7 separate regions of the Homo sapiens genome follow, and regions 1, 3, 4, 5, 6 and 7 are each linked to region 2. Evidence: promoter capture Hi-C in 16 types of primary human blood cells and fetal thymus (Javierre and others, 2016). All regions are on one chromosome and are shown on one strand. The core of a region is centred on a gene start or on the middle of the fragment in contact, and the rest is flanking DNA. Distances in the headings are between cores, read along the strand shown.

Region 1 (2,700 bases), core at 29-2,528, about 15 Mb before region 2:
AGGAGGAGAGTATTGAAAATGAAGTTAGAGAAACTGGTGAGGAGTTGGGTGCAGTGGCTCATGCCTGTAATCCAAACACTTTGGGAGGCTGAGGCCAGAGCATTCCTTGAGCTCAGGAGTTCAAGACCAGCCTGGGCAACATGGTGAAAACCCGTCTCTATAAAACAATACAAAAATTAGCCAGGCGTGGTGGCGTGCCCCTGTACTCCCAGCAACTTGAGAAGCTGAGGTGGGAGGATCACCAGAGCCCAGGAAGGTCAAGGCTGCAGTGAGCCATGATTGCGCCACTACACTCCAGCCTGGGCAACAGAGTGAGACTCTGTCTCAAAAGAAAAAAGAAAAGAAACTGGTGAGGGTTTCTAATTCTAAGTGCAAATGGAAACCATGGAAGGGTTTTGAACATAAATTTGCCTTTTGAAAAACCACTCTTGCACTTTGTGAACTTTAGCGGGGCAAGAATGGAAGATTGGAAGCAGGGAGACCAATTATGCAGCTCTTCCCATGATCCTTGTGAGATAATAGTGGCTTGGGTGTACTGTTTGAATTATTGGGAAGGGATTAGATTGCGATTTTGAAGGAAGAGCTAACAAGACTTGCTATTCTAATACACTTAATTTTCATACTCTTGCATTCCTTTTTTAATTCCTTAAATACTATGCAAAATTAAAGCTTACATATTTGGAATATTTGGCAACTGGTGTTGTAGAAATTTGTTTATGGTGTGATTAAATCGTATCCTGGAATTGTGTTCATTTTAGTATTGGAGTTGCAGAATTTTAATACCTTTTAAACACCTTATTTTATTGGTATTATTGGTACAGACATAATTACATTACACATATCTGAAAGAAAATTATTCATATAGCAACTCTTATTTTTCCTCAAACTTAATTAGGCATAATTAAAATTCTACTTAAAGATAAATTACTTTACAATTTTTTTTTAAATTGTGAAATATAGCAAGTATATTTTCTAAACATCACAAAATGGAAATACACAGTATAATGAATAATTATAAAATGAATATTCATTTAACTACCACCCCAATCTAGAATTAGAACATTACTGGCTTCCCAGAAGTTCCATGCCACCCTTTTATGCCCTTCCCTGATCTTTTCTCATTTCTTTATATTTTTTTCTATCTTAGGACTGTACCACAATTTGTTTACGCATTTTTTTAATGGATTTTGGATTTTCTGTAAGAATAAAAAACAGTTTAGAAACAATGCCACTACTTTTGTCTATGAATTATAGTATGTGTGTGAACATGTGTTTCTAGGGTTTATACCTGGGAATAGAATTGCTTTGTTGTGTGGTATGCATATCTTCAATTTGCCTAGATGTTACCAAAACATTTTCCAAAGTGATTGTACTAGTTTACACTCTCACCAATAGTGTATGAATGTACCTATTGTCATATTCTCGCCAATACTTAGTTTGGTAAGACTTTAAAAATTTTTGTCAATCTGTTGGCTTTGTAATTTTATTGTGGTTTTAAATGTGCAGTTCTTTAATTCCTGATGAGATTGAACCACCTTTCAAATACTTTATTGGCCATTTGGATTTCCTCTTTTATGCAGTGCCTGTTCAAGTCTTTTGCTCATCTTTTCATTGGTCAGCTTTATTTTTCTTACTGGTTTGTGAGAATTCTTGGTATTTCTTGGATGCTAGTGCAAGTTGGTTGTATGTTATAAATACCTTCTTCTAGTCTTTGTCTTGTCTTTTCATTTTATAGTGTCTTGTGGTGAATGGATGTTCTTAGTTTTAATGTAGTCAAATTTATCATTTGTTTCCTTTATAGTTAGTAGGTTTATATGTTTATAAAGAAATCCATCTCTACCTTGAAGTTAGGAAGTTATTCTTTTATAGTTATTGCCTAAAAGCTTTATACTGTTGTGTTTTACACTTATGTCTTTAACTGGAATTGATTTTTGGTATCATATACAGAGGAGTTCCCATTTAATTTTTCATATAGATAATCCACTTTTCCCAGCACCATTTATTGGAAAGTTCATCCTTTCCCTATTGCTCTGTAGGACCACCTTTGTCATATATCAGCATCCCTATATGCTTGGGTCATTTTGTGGCCTTGTCTTTTCCATTCTGTTGGCCTACTGGTATATCCTGCACCAATACTATGCTCTCTGAATTATTGTGGTTTTTTACTGAAACTTGTTATCTGATTAAGTCCTCCCACTTTTTTTCTAGAGTATGGCTATTCAGTGCTGTTTTCAAGGCAAAATAATTGCAAATCTAAGCAAGGGATGGTCCATAGCCATAACTGCTAATGGATTTTTTTTCTTTTTTCCTCTGTTTCAGTGTAACCATACAAGTTTCCTAGCTTGCTCTAAAAGTAGAGATTGTTTCTGGTTCACCCTTATCCTGAAGGTATATTAGGAGGGTTGGTCACTGCTATTAGAATTATTATAATTATCACTACCATTACTGAAACTAAAGTCCTCTAAATTATAAAATTACATGTAATTTCTTAAAACAGTTTCCTACTTAGCCAATGATAGCTGACCCATCCTTTCCTTGGCTTATGGACTTGATTCTGACTGTTTACATTGCAAATTCTAGATCCCTATTCACTTAACAAAAAACTTGCGTTTATATTTTGCCTCTTATTTGAGTGATCTTTCTTCTTCCTTGACTTAATAAAAATCTGGTATTACTTCCTTCATAACTCTGGAATTGCCC
Region 2 (2,700 bases), core at 98-2,597:
TGTATTCTAAAAAAAATTAATGCATTTATATACCAGAATCTATGCATAAGAATGCTCATACTGGTGTTGTTTGTAATACCAAGCCTGAGAAACAGAAGGAATAAACTGTCACAAAACCACAAAACGGAATAGTATCAGTATACATCAGTGCAAATAAAAGAATTACACCTATACACTTCTACATGCAACTACCTAGGATTAATTTAGAAGCATAATGAACAAAAAAAGAGTACAGAATCAACTATGCTTACACAGCTCATAAAATTAAACATACATGTATGTTAGGTTTTGAAGGGAAGGCAAGGATTAAAGAAAGAGAGGGTGGCTTAACAACAAATACAGGATTTATGTCCAGCATAAGACCTACAGAGGTGGGAGACCAGCTTAATGCCAGTGCCCGTTGCTTCTTACAGGCTGGGGTGATTTATAGGCCTGGGTGGGAGTGGTCTGGGGGGCCATGGCCTGCTTCCTGGGAACATGTTGATAAGGTGTTCCCAGGACGAGGCGGCTCTGGCCCTTGTTCCAGTGGAATGTGGTACTTTCTCCCAGCAGAGTATAAGAGGCAGCCTGTTTCTCACGCCCGAACCCCGTGGAATGTTTCACTTTGACTAAGGTCTGCAAAATGGCAGGGGGGCTTACAAAAATGGTGCAGTTTGGACTAACAACGTACATAAATTTTTAAAAAGCAAAAGAATAAATCCCAAATATGGGAAAGTGTTATCTGTGGAAGAAAGTAATGGGATGGTATCAGAAAAGACACTGGTAATTTAAACAGTGTTGACAATGTCTCAGTTTTAAAATTACCAGCTGGTTCCCATGTATAAGTTGCTTACTTATCTGTTACACCTATTTATGTATATATAAAAATAGGTTTCCAAACGACATCCCATGTGTATGAAATAACAGAATTTTTATGCCTTATTAAAATAATTTCTCTAAACACTTGAAGAGCCCGAGCCGCCTCTTACCCTAAACGAACCCCACGCCCCTGAATTGATCAGTCACTTCCGCCTCCACCTTTCCAGCTCCACCTAAGGAAGCGGAAGTACTTTACTCTTGGGTCCTCCCACCTGTAGGGGGCTCTCCGAGGCTTCTAGTGCCACGAAGGCCTCCTGCCTGGGTTGTCCTTATGGCGCCTGTGAGTTTAGTTCTAGAAAAGATATTTGTATTTTAACTTTTCCATCTAACAAACAGTAGCACAGGCATCTTAGTCTGGACAACAACGTACAAGCTGAATTCCTGGCTAGTTCCCTCATTATCAAACCCTGACACAGTAGTAGGCGCGAGTCAGGCAGTGTGGGGACAGCCCCGAGTTGCCGAAAGTCCCCGGCCCGTTTTCCTCCTGTGAAGACATAGCTGCGGGTGGCTGTGCTGGTGGCGTTCAAGATGTCGACCAAGAATTTCCGAGTCAGTGACGGGGACTGGATTTGCCCTGACAAAAAGTGAGTTCAAGAAGGGTCCTGAATTGGGACGGAGTTTGTTAGTGGAAGCTTTCCGAGGTCCGTCCGGCATTTTCCTTTTTTATGATTTTCTGTGCCTTAAGACGGGTTGAGGCGGCGAACCGCCAGTTCCCTGGCGGGAAGAAGGCTCCCAATCTCCTCACGAGAGAGGTCTTTCCGGGAGCCTTTGTTCTAGATATGTCTTCAGCGTTTCCTCGACATTACCTCCGCAAGGTAGCCTCTCTTTTTAGAGTGCGAGATGGCCTACCTTTTTGCCCCCACCCCCCTCCCCCGCCCCGGCCAGGTTTTAGCGATAGGAAACCTCTCCAGTCAGGCCAGCTTGGTGTTGGATCTCCCCCACGTGACTTTTCTCTGCAGAACTTTACTCTTGTTCACGGAAAATATTGCTTTCTCGCACTCGTCCTTTTGCCTCTTATAGTTCACCTTGTTTTGTATTTTTACTCAAACTTTTCCTCCATACTATTTTCCCCTTTTCCGGAAGCTCTACCCTCTTCGGTTTGGGAAATTCTGACATTTTCTTTGTGGATCATTTCTCCACAAGAATTGGGCTTTTCGCCTCCTTAGAGCCGAAAAGGAGGGAAGAGGCCTGTGTTTTTGCCTACTCAGCCCTTAAGATGCCTGCAGCAGAGAAGCACGTGTGTTAGTGGCTCTGCTTTTTGACATTGTTGCCAAAGCCAGTACTCGACTAGATAGTTAATCAGATTTTTTTTGAAGGGTGCACAAATAGGTGTATCTATTCGGAAATAACATGGAAAATAATTTAATGTACAACTCATGTTCACATAAAAGCCTTTTATTTGTTGTACCTAAGTTAGCCACAAATAGGTTTTGATTGTAAAAAGCAAAAACTTTGAAATAAACCTGGGTTTAGTTAAAATTCTATTACTTATTTAACTGCTAAAAAAGGAATAGAATTTTTTTTTTAATGAAAACATGAAATAACATGGATAGGGTGTGTAAACAGTGACGTGTAGCAAATTCTAATTGGTGGCTATTGATAGTAATTTGATATTAAGATGACCTGAAGGAGTAGTTCAAGCCTAACAAATGATACTGAATAGAACCAAAGTTATATGTTATGGATAGTATTGCTCTGAGTGGTAAGACATTATTGAAAACGTTCAAAAGATTTAGAACAACAACTTCTGACTTTGTTGTTACCTGTAAAATAATGTGCTTTTGTCAGTGTCTTTAATGACAGCACACCCAGAGGTAGGACTCTCAATGAGAGTTCATTTCA
Region 3 (2,700 bases), core at 1-2,500, about 16 Mb before region 2:
GTGGTTGTGCAGCAGGCAATGAAATGAGCTTACATTCAAGCTTCCGTGTTTTACTGAAACAACAGTCACAGATGCAGTAGATGTTAAAGGTTGAAAGACGAGTGCAGTAAAAGCATTATGAGGACAAGAAGAAAACGTAAATATTTGTGTTGTTTCATTCTTTGTTGTGGTGGCAGAAACAGCCCCCTCTTTCTAAGGTAACTCCAATATAATGATCTCTCCCAGCTTTGAAATACTCCATGTCTGTTTCATTTTCCAGAAATATGGAAAAATGAATATATAATAAAAAACCCTATTTCTCATTTATTGTCTATTTTAGATCTTTATGTGGAAAAGCACTTACTCTCTTCCCAGAGCACTGTTTTTAAAGTAGGTATATTTGCCATAACCTATGCTCGTCTCTACAAAAGGATCACACCACCGTGTCCACCATTAAAGGGGAAATTCTTTAATGGTGGACACAGTGGTGTCCCTGAATCCTCATCCTCAAGTGTTTCAATCTTCCCAGTCTTGGGAAAACAACAATGTTACTTCTTTCTTTTGCACCCTCTGTAGCTGTAATCCTGTTTCCCCATTCTCCATAAAAGACTTACCTTATTTTCATATATCCTTATTCTTAGCCTTTGACACTTTTTTTTTTGAGACAGAGTTTTGCTGTGTCACCCAGGCTGGAGTGCAATGGTGTGATCTCAGCTCACTGCAACCTCTGCCTCCTGGGTTCAAGGATTCTCCTGCCTCAGCCTTCCAAGTAGCTGGGATTACAAGCATGCATCACCACGCCCGGCTAATTTTTTATATCTTTAGTAGAGACAGAGTTTCACCATGTGGGCCAGGCTGGTCTCGAACTCCTGGCCTCAAGTGATCCGCCTGCCACAGCCTCCCAAAGTGCTGGGATGACAGGTGTGAGCCACCGCACCCAGCTGATTCGCTTTCTTTACAGAGAAAATATAAATCATCACTCTGTTTGGCAGAAGCCTCTTCAACCAAATTTCCTTATTTCCACCTCCTGTTCTCTCCACACTCTTTCCTGCATCATTGCCAAATGTTTCAAAGGAATAGGTGTCTCAGGTGTTCTGAGTAGAGCCACTGCTCCCTTAATCTTGGCTGCACATCAGCATCACCTGGAGAGTTTAAGCAACCACTGATGCCTGGATCCAGTCCCAGAGTGTGGACTGGGCATTGGGATGTTTTAGGAGTTCCTCTAGGTGTTCTTAATGTGTGACCAAGGTTGAGAACTAATTTGTCACCCTCTAGAACTTGCTCCATCAGTCTCTACCCTTTGCCTACAGACTGATTCTACTTCTCTTACCAGATATCAGTCCCTTAAGGGCAGTGTCCGTTTCCTATTTATTTTTATATATTTTATGGTTTACACAGGCAACATAGTGAATTCCCAAATGATTTAGTAAGTGAAAAAAGTAATCAAATCAAGATGTTTACAGTGCTAAGCTCTTTTGTGACACCATCACCCCCAGCCTAAATTTCCAACTATTTATCCATAGATTCAATATTTCCAGTGGCAAGTCTGTTATAGTTTGCTTTTCCTGAAAATTCTTCTTTTCTTGGGTTTCCTACATTGATAAATTGAATCATACACACCAAATCACCTAAGCCAGAAATCTGAGTCCCCTTTGATTATTTCCTCTTATTTCCCACCACCAATTGGTCTATCCTGGCAATTTCTTCTCTGAAACTGTTTCCTATTTTTCATTTTCATCCTCTTTTTAAAAACAAATTTTTTAACTTGAAACAATTTACAAACTAAGAAAACTGTTGCAAGAATAGTACAAAAACTTCTGTGTACCCTTTGCCTAGAAACCCCACTCAAACTTTGCCAATTATTCCAATGTCTTTACAGCAAAAACGTCCCAGCCAAGAAAGATCATGTGCTGCATCCAGTTAGCTTGTTGCTCAATTCTCCTTCAGTCTGGATCAATTATTCAGGCTTTTCTTGACACTATTCCTTCCCCAGAGTTAGCCACTATTTTTAAATTGGTATGATTAATATCTGTTATGTTTTTGTACTTTCACTGAATTTATATGTATCTATGAATGGTACTACTATGTTATATTTTTAAACTGCATAAATGATATCATATAGATAAATCCTTTTGCATTTAGGGGTCTAATACTTCTATTTGTGTATTTGATGACCTTTTTGTTTGTGGATTGATTCCTTTTGCTTTGTACATTGATTCCTTTTAGCTTTTTTTTTTATGGCTCATTTTTAGTGATACAGAAAAAAATGTTTCTTCTGTCAGAGACCCCTAAGGTTATCACTGGCTAGTGAGCAATTTTTACATGAATTTCTTTCTTGGCTTAGAAGTTCTAAGATCATTCAGATATTATAAATTTGAACCCAGATTTGTGGGAGTACAAACTATGATTCAAATTCTCAAGGGAGAGAGATCTTCCTTGTTTTTTTCTCTTTCAGAGCTTGTGCCTTGACAGAAAAGCTTCTTACTATGCCAGAAGAAAAGCTTCTATCTAGTCTACCCTTTCATTGAGGGTACAGAATTTCATGGGTTTTTAACTTATGTGTGTGTGTGAGGTCATGAAGTTGGGGGACAGGGTGTGCTCACAGTTAACTGATTTCTGTTTGCACCAAGGGCCCAAGGTCTTATCACAAGTTACCGTGTATTTTTAAAAATTATAAAGGCCAGGCGCGGTGGCTCATGCCTATAATCCCAGCACTTTGGG
Region 4 (2,700 bases), core at 96-2,595, about 15 Mb before region 2:
GAGACTCTGTCTCAAAAAAAAAAAAAAAAAAGGAAAAAGAAACAAACTGCAGAAAACCTGTCTGCTTTTGAAATTAGTTTGATATTCTGCTTATAGTAAGAATGTCATGATCATGTTTATGATTTGCTTTTTGCTTCTCTTTTTCATCTTCTTATTTCACAATGGATGTGTATTTATAGTGTAGTTTTTCTATCCCAAAAGTTCCTTGTGACAAACTTTAGAACAATGGAATTTAGTGATCTGGTCGCGGTCTGCTCTCTCTCTTTAGAATTGTAGTCTGTGCTTTTAGCTAGCTCATTCATCACTCATTTCCTTGTCCAGAACAGTTTTCATCTTTTGAATCTAAATTGAACTTATGAGTATTAAAACCTGACTGAATAAAGGCAAGTTTGTGTGTTACTTTTTGCTTTGTAGATTTTTATATTTATGTTTTAGTATCTCATGGCTTTTTTTTTTTTTTGAGATGGAGTCTCGCTCTGCCGCAGTGGAGTGCAGTGGCGCGATCTCGGCTCACTGCAACGTCCGCCTCCCGGGTTCAAGTGATTCTCCTGCCTCAGCCTCTCGAGTAGCTGGGACTACAGGTGCCCACCACCACGCCTAGCTAATTTTTGTATTTTTAGTAGAGATGCGGTTTCACCATCTCATGGCTTTTAATTCAAAACTGAGTTCCACCAATTCCTTACTTGTAATCTTGGACAAGCTATTTAACCCTTCTAAGATTTAATTTACTTATTTATAGCTTTTTAATAACAACCTTGTGAAGCTTTTGTGAGATGATGTTTATAAGGTCAGTCAGTGCTCTGCTCAGTAAATGGCAACAGCTGTCGTGTTGAAGGAAAGGAATATGCTTTATGTTTGTCTGGTACAGGATGGTGACTTTATTTGGGATTAGACAATATTCTGAACATCTTTGGCCAGGTCTTTTTCCGGGTAATTGGGCTCTATATGGACACTCAAAAGTGTCCGAGTTTAAACAGTAAATAATTTAGTCACCCTAACTTATATTTGAGAACCTAATCTATGCTCCCCACTGTGTTAGGTAATTTTTTAGGGCAGAGAGTGATGCGTATTATTTGTCCTCACAGTTAATAGCAAGTTTAAAAGAGAACTAAAATATGAGCATTTATGGAGCAGTTAAATTCTAAACTATATGATTCTGAAAATACTTTTGTTTAGAGTTCTTGATGGGCTGGAGAAATCAGGGCAACACTTTGAGAAGGAAATGGAATGTTGGCTTTGAAGTACATGCCGTGTTTACAGAACAGTCACTCTTGCTGTCAACTCTTCTTCCTATATTATCCAGTCTGCAGCCCATCTTTTAAATATACATCCTTCTTTTTTCATTGGAGAGAGGGATTACTAATTTGTTATCTAATCTAATCTCTCTGTATCAGAAAACGTTTTTTCCATTTTGGTAGCTTTTACGCATAAGATTTATTTTCCAGCTTTTTGCCTGTTTCCAAGATTCCTATCCTTTTTTTTTTTTTCATACAATTACCTCTCTAGTAAACGTTTGACTAGTGTCCAGAATAGTAGGGGGAAAAAAAGAGGATTCCTGTATCTACTTTGTGTTCCTTGCTGAATATGCCATGGTGACTTTTTTCAGTAGAAGCTGTGTTTGAAGCCAGTGGAAGTTAGTTTTCTAAGAATTTGTGTTTGGCAAAACAAAATGTGCAGGTTTCATATGCTATTCTCTTCAGAGATATTGTTTTAAAATACATATTCATCTGAAGTTAGTTAATTTACTTAGTCTGATCTAGGTGTTAAGGAAGGTCATGGACCATGATTTTCCTTTTTCTCTGACCATGGCTAGCATCATGGTCCCTGAGCAGTTATCCCCAAATGCTTGCTGTTGGCCACAGTGGAACATAGTTTAGTGAATGTAGCTGGATCAGCATAGCCTACAAGCACTCCTGGAAAAAGCTTTAAGTACATGTCCTCTTGGCAGTAGACTGGCAAAATTGTCTCTGTATAGGAAATTTAAATCTTTAAACATTTTAAAATATTTTAAAATTGCTCATCTTTAAGGATTTTTAAATGGTTTTTTAAAATTTTTTATTTCCATAGGTTTTTGGGGAACAGGTGGTATTTGGTTACATGAGTGAGTTCTTGAGTGGTGATTTGTGAGATTTTGGTGCACCCATCCCTGAGCAGTGTACACTGAATTCCAATTGGTAGTCTTTTATCACTCACCCCCTTCCCACCCTTTCACCCTGAATCTCCAAAGTCCACTGATTCATTCTTACCCCTTTGCATCCTCATAGCTTAGCTCCCACTTATAAGTAAGAACATATGATGTTTGGTTTTTTATTGCTGAGTTACTTCACTTAGAGTAATAGTCTCCAATTCCATCCATGTTGCTGTGAATGCCGTTAATTTATTCCTTTTTATGGCTGAGTAGTATTTTATCATGTATATATTATATATATATGTATATCACAGTTTTTTTACTCATTGTTTGATGGACATTGTGTTGCTATAAACATGCATGTGCAAGTATCTTTTCTATATAATGACTTCTTTTCCTCTGGGTAGGTGGCTAGTAGTGGGATTGCTGGATCAAATGGTAGCTCTACTATTAGTTCTTTAAGGAATCTCCACACTGTTTTCCATAGCGGTTGTACTAGTTTACATTCCCACCAACAGTGTAGAAGTGTTCTCTTTTCACTGCATCCATGCCAACATCTATTATTATTTTTT
Region 5 (2,700 bases), core at 145-2,644, about 10 Mb after region 2:
AAAACGCATATCATATAAATGCAAAATAGAAAGTTTAAGATGTACCACGTACCATTGCAATGTAAAAAGAGTACGTGAGAAACTTTAAAATGCTCAGACGAATTGCTTCATTTGTTGTCCCCTTTTTTTTGCATTTAAAAAATATCTAAATAAACTTGGAACCGTTGAAAACCCGGAAGAGATTTTTTAAAAAGCTGTTGGCCAATTGCAGGCTTCTTGGAGAATTTTTTTTTTAACTCCAAATCAGAAGGCTTTTGCAATTGCAAGGCGCGCTCTCTCCCTCTCTCACTGTCTCGCTCTCGCTCGCTCGCTCGCTCGCTCTCACTCTCTCTTTTGAAAGCGATCCAACCCGGGCTGGCTGGTTCTCAGATTCGCTCTGGTTTTGCCTTGCGTGCTTTGGATTGTACGAGACTTTGCAGAAGTTGCAATCGATTCGGCAGTCCCTCTCTCCTCTCCCAACTCCCTTGTTTATTTCCGCAATCGCTGCAATTTGCATAGTAACCACGCACGAGGTACCGGCGGCAGCCTGCGGCGGAGGGGGCAGGGAGGGGGCAGGGAAAAGGCCTTGCCCCCTTCTCCCCTCCTCCAGTCTGTCTCCCCGCCAGTCGTCTCCTCCCCTACGGCGCGTGGCCAATAGGAGCCCCTACATTCGGCGCAAGCTCCGGTCTGGACACCGTTCTGAAGAAAAGCCCCTGTGTTACTAGGCCCGGCTCTCGGAATCGTTCTGTTGGCGCAGTACAAGTTCCCCTGCTTGCGCACCTCGCAGCCGGTACTGGGCAACGTGAGGATAAAGTACCTTTGCCTGCGGTTGTGCGGGTTTTGCACCTTTTAATCAAGTCTGCACACCTGCTCTCTCGGTTTCTTTTTCCAGGGCCTCTCGTGAGTTATTAGGCTAGTTCATGATGGTTAGTGAGAGATTTAACCTTTATTTGCACTAGTGTAGACCAAGAGTTAAAGATCCTCTTTGGTGCATTAAATCAAGAGAGTGCAAAATGTCACAGGGAACTTGCAGTGAAATAAAGCGTCTACCCTAGGTTAGGAAAGAAAAAGACAGTGGCTCTATTCTCTGCAGATGACTGAACATAAAATTGTTAGGTGGGCTCCCTCAAGAATAAAGCTGTTCTTTTAAGGCAGGAGATACGGTGAAATTCTAATTTAATTGCCAAGCATCTAATTTGTCAATATCCTTACAAAACCTGGGTTCCACAAAATTAAAGGAGACCCCTCCCCTTCCTACTCCCCTAAGAGAAGAGCTGTAAGAGTTTTGACATTTAAAAGGGGGGTTTTAAAAGATAATTATTGGAACATTAAGTCCTTCATCTCACTGACTCACCTTATTTCATTAACCCAGACTCTTTAAGACCATGTAGTCTGGATATTTCAATGTCAACAGTTTAAGTGTTTGTTTTAAACAACAAAATAGCCATTGGTGCAGAGCAAGGAAATAAGACTCTGAAGGGAGGGAGTTATCTCTTTAAATGGAAAGCACACAACCAGGCTACTGCGGTTTTCGTTGTTGTTTTTAAAAATGTGATTGCTGGCTGGGCACGGTCGCTCACGCCTGTAATCCCAACACTTTGGGAGGCCGAGGTGGGCGGATCACAAGGTCAGGAGATCGAGACCATCCTGCCCAACATGGTGAAACCCCGTCTCTACCAAAATTACAAAAATTAGCCGGGTGTGGTGGCGCGTGCCTGTAATCCCAGTTACTTGGGAGGCTGAGGCACGAGAATCGCTTGAACCCAGCAGGCGGAGGTTGCAGTGAGCCAAGATCACACCACTGCACTCCAGCCTGGTGACAGAGCGAGACTCTGTCTCAAAAAAAAAAAATTGTGTTTGCTTTGAGTCAGTTAAGGAGCATAGGACATTTTGCTGAATAACTTAGAGGAAAACGTGTGCTTACCTGGCTTGATTAAAAGTATCCAGTAAGAAGTCAAGAGTAATAGGAAGCAACCTGGCAGTTGTCTGATTTTCTTAACTGTCCTTGGTGAAGGTACCTAATTAATTAATAACAGGACCTTGCATAGTTAAATTGGAGGTTAGAGAAACCTCATATTTTATGTTGAATCACATTTTTTGCTTCGGTCTTGCTCTCTACAACTAGTCGACTGATGTAGCCGTACTGTGGCTGGCCTTGGCATTAGCTTTGCTGTTCTGGTCTGCCCCTCATAGATGCAGATATGCTCTTGGCTGTAGCAAGCCTGTGGCATTTAATCCTAGCCTCCTCCACTGAGCATCCATTTCCACTTGGTGTACTACTCTCACCTAGAAATACACTTGATGTGATGTAGCGGCTTCAGTTTAAATAAAAAATAATACTTTGGGAGGCCGAGGCAGGTGGATCACCAGGTCAGGATCTCGAGACCAGCCTGGCCAACATGGTGAAACCCCGTCTCTACTAAAAATACAATAATAATAATAATAACAATTTTTTTAAGTAACCAAAAAAAAAAGTTTTGGGCCTGGTTTAGCTGGTACTAGACTGTGTGACCTTGAGATGGTTACATAACACCTGTAAAACAAGACATCAACCTATTGTGAGAGTGGAAGGTTTTGTCAAAAGGTAAGAACCGTTGAGATGCAGAAGAGGTGTCAACCTGTACTGCATTGCTCTGTAGATACTATGGTCTGAATAATCTCTGATGCTAAGCAGGCCAGGCCTTGTAAGTAGGTGGTAACAGTGAATTTTGTGTGCATTGT
Region 6 (2,700 bases), core at 167-2,666, about 11 Mb after region 2:
AAAATTCAGCTGAACAGTTAGCTAATTGCTTTTAACTCACAAACCCTAAATATTTGCATTCCACTAAAAGCAAAAGTTATTTACTTACAAAGTGTAAATGCTTTAAATTATGGCTATTTCCAATAGGCTTCACACATTTCCATAAACCTAGATTTCTCATTCTTTGGAATTAGATGCATTAGATCACTAGGGAATCTCAACCGATTACAGCCTCCTGATCCCGTCTGTTTACATTCCATCTGCACACACTCCCCTAGACGCAACTAAACAACTGGTTTGGGATGAGCATCATCAACAGCACCTTGTGGCTCATCAAACACCATCTTTACTCAATATGGGTTAAGAACCACACCTGAATGCCAGCACTGATATCTAAGTAACTCTAAGAGGTGGGATGTCATTTTGCTGACTGGAATATTGAACAATCTGGGGACAGATATGCCTGTCCAGACCCAACACAAATTAACAAAAATCCTAAACACAGATAAATCCTAAAGAAAAATGTCAACTCATTTTCTTTAAAGAAAATGCTGTCCATTTAGAGGAGGAGAGGGCCAGCGAGAAAAAGGGAAAACGACCCCCGACTCCCAACACATCTTTTTCTCCATACGGGAAATACAAACATCTCTTTGAAGCGGCTTCTACAAAATCGGATGTTCTAGAGTCCTGAAGGAGCATTGGTCCGGGAACTAAAACAGCCAGCCACCTCCTGGCCACCTGTGTCCAGGTAGAGCAAGGTAGTTTGAGGATGCAGGGTTAGGTTTCGGAAAGGGTCTTCACGCCCAAGCGGACCAAGGCAAGAGAGTCGGCGATCCAGAAAGTGGAGGGCTCGGGCGCTGTTCAGGGGGAGAAAATGGGGCAGCGGGGAGAAAAGAGGATGGGTGCTTGGTTCATATCCCAGCTGTTAGGGCACCAGGCAGGTCGAATCCTCTGGTTGAGACCAGAGCCTCCACTGTTACGCTCCCAGAGCTTCCTTTACCCCCACCCCCGGACACCAACCCGCGCCCACACACCTGCCCGTCGACCCGCAGGTGGCATTCTCTCGGTCAAGGGCACGAGGTGAGAAGGGCAGGGTGCGCCGGGACCCTGTGCAGGTAGCCCCAGCTCACCTGGGAGAACCGGGCGCCCCAGGCTCCTCGCCTCGGCCCCCTGGCCCCCTCGCCCTCTCGCCTCCTCGCACTCACCCAGATCATGAGGCTGTCGCACAGGGGCAGCTTAGGCTGCGGCGGCGGCTGCGTCTCCTCCATGGCCGGCGCCGCCGTCGACGACGCCGCGGACACCTTCACACTCCCTCCTACCGGCTCTCCTCCAGGAGCCGGCGTCCACGACCTGCTAGCCCCCAGGAAAGCTCGGTACCAGGCCCGACCCGCGCAGCTCACGCGCGAACCCTCGCGCTGTCGACGCGTCCGGCGTCACCCCCTCCTCACCCGCCCCCGCCTCGCTCCAGCGTTCGCCCCCTCCCCTTCCTGGGCCCCGGCCGCGCTGCCAGGCACCTGAGCCCCGCCTTCTCCCACCCCTCCCCTCCTCCCACCCGTCCTGCCCACTCCCGCACACCTCGCCCCGCCGCCCTGAGTGACCTGGCCGCGCACCAGTCACAGAGACGGTAGGTACCCGGGGGGGCGGGCGGGGCGGGGCGGGGGCGGGAAGAACCGGGATAGGTTGCGCAGGGGGGATTGCTGATTGGACGTGCCCTCGTGGGCTCTGGCCAATCAACGTGAGACAAGCCTGAGCCTTGGGTAGAGAGTGAGAGTGGGTGGGAAGAGGTTTATGACCTGGCAGGTGCAGTGAGGGCGGGGGTGGGAGGTTGCGCGCGGGAAGCGAGCGCGCGTGCGCGGCGGGGATTGGTAAGGCTGAAGCTCAGCCCCAGTGGCCGAAGAGGCAGAGGGGCAGCAGGGCACCGGCTGGGCTCAGGCGTCTTCCCTCCTTCTTCGCGGTAGCACGCCGCCTCGCTACACCTGTGGAGGGCCCACACTCTGCTTCCACATTGTCTTCAGAAATAGATCCTACCGGCTGGGCGAGGTGGCTCACGCCTGTAATCCTAGCACTTTGGGAGGCTGAGGCGGGTGGATCACCTGAGGTCAGGAGTTCGAGACCCGCCAGGCCAAGATGGCGAAACCCATTCTCTACTAAAAATACAAAGATTAGCCGGGGGTGGTGGCACATGACTGTAATCCCAGCTACTCAGGAGGCTGAGGCAGAAGAATCGCTTGAACCCGGGAGGCACAGGTTGCAGTGAGCCGAGATCATGCCACTGCACCCCAGCCTGGACAAAAAACCGAGACTCTGTCTCTAAAAAATATATAAAACAAAATAAAGAAAGAAAGAAATAGATCATACCCATGAATTAAAACTCTTCGAGGAAGGAAGAGCTGATTTCCTCCTAGGCACTCATTGGAAAGGGATGTTTTCATTTGCACACGTGGCAAATATGCCACATTAATAAGGAAAATAGAATCCGTCAGTGCTCCTTAAATAAGCTCTCACGGGACCATAGATCATGAGCAATTTTATTTTACATGGGGCAAAAGGGAAGACCGTTTTCAAGTAGCAAAATAAACGAAATGTTTTGAAAAACATGGAAGATATTAATGTATCCATTTTCCTTTGTCAGTTGAAAATTTGCTTTTTCCGAGAATGTTGTGGGGTGGAGGGGGGTCGGGGGAGGTGACCTGAAATTGGAAGCTCTCCAAGGTATTGATA
Region 7 (2,704 bases), core at 26-2,525, about 16 Mb before region 2:
TAGAAACATAAAGGAAATAATAGTTGCTAGCTAAATACTGCCTACTTAGCCTCCCTCATACTCCCATTTTTCCGAGTTTGAAAGTGCCTAGCAGGCATTTCCTGGATCCTTGTCAATTGCTGGTGATGTAGGGAGCACAGTCCTTATTTTCAAAGTTGACGAAAACTTAAGGGAGAAAGCCTTTCCCGACTACCCTCCTCACTGTGGAGGATGAGAGGCGGAAATTCTCACAGCCCCCAAAAGCAATGGAAGTAATTGCAAGATTTGCAATCTCACAGCCTCTAGAGAGTAAGAAATGTCACTTCTAGTATAAATCAAGTTTTGAGGAATGCTTTTAGGGTGCTAGCCTGAGAGTCTTTTTCCAAGGCCGAAGCACAGCCTAGATGCTTGAATACCTAGGCATTCGACTTTATCTACTCTGCCAAATAGGTTAAATAAATCTCCAGACTGAGGCTAATATTAGGCCTGATTATTGTTAGTAAGTTCCAGAGAGATTTTTCTGGTGGAAATTATCATGAAAGTGCAAAGCCCTTCTGCTAAGTATCATTAAGTAAAACCAGCCTTGTGGGGCAAGTTTTCATATTGTGTTACACACAGTACTGCTAGATTGAGGAAAGGAACCTGAAGGAGAATCTGGCGAGACAATGCAGATGTTGAACATTTAGGGTTTTAGTGTCTATTTGGGGGATTTCTGTCTTTCAAACCATCAAAATTAATAAGGCTGCATAAGAAAGAATAATTATTGCCCATACAGTCAGGTAGAGGGCATTTTAAATATCAATTCAAATACTCATTTTTTAATTCTAGCACCTTAAAATTAAATGAATTAATTTTATTGATTTGTATTTAAAGTTGCACTGCTATGATGAATTCACCTTGTGCACATATAAAAAACTTTTTTTAAAAAAAAGTCATTAAAACTATAATAGTAATTAAAATGTCCTACACAGAAAACAGCTACAGATGGGCATGATTAAAGAGGACCAACTTAGAAAAGATGTAATGCTGCTTGAAGGTTAGTCAAGAAAACTCAATTAAACCAGATGAGGAGAGGAACACCATAAACAAATAATACATTTGAATCCCCTGGTTCATTTTCACTTTTTAAATAATTTATAATAAAAGGAGATGACACAAGATCTTAGTGGGCTACAATTAAGTTATGATTTGTCATGTGCAAGTAAATTTCCGTCTCTGGGCCTTAATTTTCTCATCCACAAATGAGAGAATTAAGCCAAATGGTCTTTATTTTTTCTTTTTAAAAATGATTTTCTTAGATAGAGCACATAATGCATAGATGTATAACGAATTGTGGTACTTTTCAGGATTTTTCCTGAAGAATATGCACTAAAACGAAATCTTAATTCCTGAAGGAAATGTTAGAAATTTAACCAGACACATGTTCAGCTATCATTGAGTGATTATCCAGAGGATCCCGGTGGTGTTTGTGGAAGGAAGGAGAGTGAGATGGATAAAACTTTGAATAACAGAGCTCTAGGCTACAGGGCCTACATTTTAGGAGGTGGTTTTAGTGCTTCAGCTCTAATTCTGTGCGGAGTGAGGTCTTTAAACATGTCCTGGTAGATTGGAGTGGATGGGAGTGTATTACCAGAGAGCTTTATTTGCTGATGTGTGTTTATAGAAATACAAAAGCGATAATGGCTAACAGTCTCTCTTCTGAGAGGTAGGGAGTAAATACATTCACTGTAATCAAAATTCAGGTGTACTTTTACCACAGCGCCACCTCTGGGTAATCTTTATTTCTGCATTCTTTGCGTTTAGCAGTCCTTTCTCATCCTGATTTGTGGTCTGAAAATGCCTGGTTGAGTGGGTAGCAACGTCAATCTTTTATTTCCACTGATGCGAAACACAAAAACCTTGTAAACACACACAAATTCAGTATGGGTAAAGAAATTCTGTATTCGGATATTCTTCAAACAAATATTAAAAACAGTGCATAAAGTAATATTCCTGGTATGAAGTAAAATTGCCTAACTCGAAATAATGTTATATTGTGCCCCACAGTTGACGAAACCTCTGCTGATATCACACATTCATCATTCATCCTACTCATCTGCAATGAGATATAAGATTAGGGGGCTTTGGAAAAGAAAGATAAATGTAAATCGTTTCTTTCTTGAATCCTAATTAAATGTGGGAACCATACTGCTCCTAGATCAAGCCGTCATTTTCTCCACTTGCCCCAAAATTATTTGTTCATAGCTTCCTTTCTCGTTTATGTCCTTCAATCATAATCATTCTTTTCTCCAAGTGACAGTTCGCTAAGAATCTCCCATGGACAGCCAGAGGTTCTACACAGACCTATGCAGCCTTTAATGTCTGGAGAAAGTCTAGGCTATTTGATGCTGATATGACCTCCAAGACAACATGCCCCAGCTCTTTCTCAGGAAAAAATATTCTGTCCTTTTAAAGTCAATGCAAAACCGTTTTTGAAGAAAGTCTTTTTAGGAAGGAAAATTTTTAAAAATCTGCTCAACTTTATTGCTGCCATCACAGAGATCCCTTGATATTCAGTTTCCTCCAACGTGAATACAAAAAGCTTGAGTCTAGGACAACAATTCCAGAGTGTAAAAGGTGTGGAGAGAAAAGGGAACAGTAGTTACCAACAGAAAAAACCCAAGGAAGAGGAAGGGCAGGTTAGGTCCTGGGCCAGTTTTCTGTGGTGGCGTTGTCGTCTGAGCAG

The links. The method cuts DNA at HindIII sites, captures the fragments that hold promoters and counts their contacts. A CHiCAGO score of 5 or more calls a contact.
Region 1: a contact is called between a fragment that was not itself captured here and the fragment with the promoter of ZRANB2 in region 2, in 2 of 17 cell types (non-activated CD4 T cells and total CD4 T cells). The highest score is 14.1, in non-activated CD4 T cells.
Region 3: a contact is called between a fragment that was not itself captured here and the fragment with the promoter of ZRANB2 in region 2, in 1 of 17 cell types (total CD4 T cells). The highest score is 6.9, in total CD4 T cells.
Region 4: a fragment that was not itself captured here is called in contact with the fragment with the promoter of ZRANB2 in region 2 in 2 of 17 cell types (total CD4 T cells and non-activated CD4 T cells); the score reaches 7.5 in total CD4 T cells.
Region 5: a contact is called between a fragment that was not itself captured here and the fragment with the promoter of ZRANB2 in region 2, in 2 of 17 cell types (total CD4 T cells and naive CD4 T cells). The highest score is 6.4, in total CD4 T cells.
Region 6: the fragment with the promoter of HOOK1 here is called in contact with the fragment with the promoter of ZRANB2 in region 2 in 2 of 17 cell types (total CD4 T cells and activated CD4 T cells); the score reaches 5.5 in total CD4 T cells.
Region 7: a fragment that was not itself captured here is called in contact with the fragment with the promoter of ZRANB2 in region 2 in 1 of 17 cell types (non-activated CD4 T cells); the score reaches 7.5 in non-activated CD4 T cells.

What each region holds. Positions count from the first base shown.
Region 1 is chr1:85,702,858-85,705,557 of GRCh38, reverse strand. The region is part of intron 4 of ZNHIT6 (zinc finger HIT-type containing 6); the gene reads left to right. Among named protein-coding and RNA genes, the nearest start is that of ZNHIT6, 4.2 kb to the left of the region's middle. The HindIII fragment of the contact is 1,214 bases long and covers 672-1,885 here.
Region 2 is chr1:71,079,682-71,082,381 of GRCh38, reverse strand. ZRANB2 (zinc finger RANBP2-type containing 2) reads left to right here and starts at 1,347. Exons shown (of 10, transcript NM_203350.3): 1 at 1,347-1,442. The coding sequence starts at 1,387. ZRANB2-DT (ZRANB2 divergent transcript) reads right to left here and starts at 1,058. Exons shown (of 4, transcript NR_046217.1): 1 at 969-1,058. RefSeq lists an enhancer at 1,108-1,397. The HindIII fragment of the contact is 3,322 bases long and covers 1-1,492 here.
Region 3 is chr1:86,701,104-86,703,803 of GRCh38, reverse strand. It overlaps CLCA4-AS1 (CLCA4 antisense RNA 1), which reads left to right. Exons shown (of 5, transcript NR_135837.1): 1 at 1-197. Among named protein-coding and RNA genes, the nearest start is that of CLCA4-AS1, 2.0 kb to the left of the region's middle. RefSeq lists an enhancer at 1-24. The HindIII fragment of the contact is 2,416 bases long and covers 43-2,458 here.
Region 4 is chr1:86,392,172-86,394,871 of GRCh38, reverse strand. The region is part of intron 1 of ODF2L (outer dense fiber of sperm tails 2 like); the gene reads left to right. Among named protein-coding and RNA genes, the nearest start is that of ODF2L, 2.8 kb to the left of the region's middle. The HindIII fragment of the contact is 1,160 bases long and covers 766-1,925 here.
Region 5 is chr1:61,074,981-61,077,680 of GRCh38, reverse strand. It overlaps a transcript of NFIA not described here. Among named protein-coding and RNA genes, the nearest start is that of NFIA, 6.2 kb to the left of the region's middle. The HindIII fragment of the contact is 3,593 bases long and covers 1-2,700 here.
Region 6 is chr1:59,813,665-59,816,364 of GRCh38, reverse strand. HOOK1 (hook microtubule tethering protein 1) reads right to left here and starts at 1,416. Exons shown (of 22, transcript NM_015888.6): 1 at 1,185-1,416. The coding sequence starts at 1,247. LOC105378758 (a long non-coding RNA gene) reads left to right here and starts at 1,499. Exons shown (of 5, transcript XR_947426.3): 1 at 1,499-1,603. RefSeq lists an enhancer at 549-1,112 and a silencer at 1,349-1,948. The HindIII fragment of the contact is 6,303 bases long and covers 1-2,700 here.
Region 7 is chr1:87,325,197-87,327,900 of GRCh38, reverse strand. No RefSeq gene overlaps it. Among named protein-coding and RNA genes, the nearest start is that of LMO4, 2.3 kb to the left of the region's middle. RefSeq lists a silencer at 1,789-1,838. The HindIII fragment of the contact is 2,574 bases long and covers 1-2,562 here.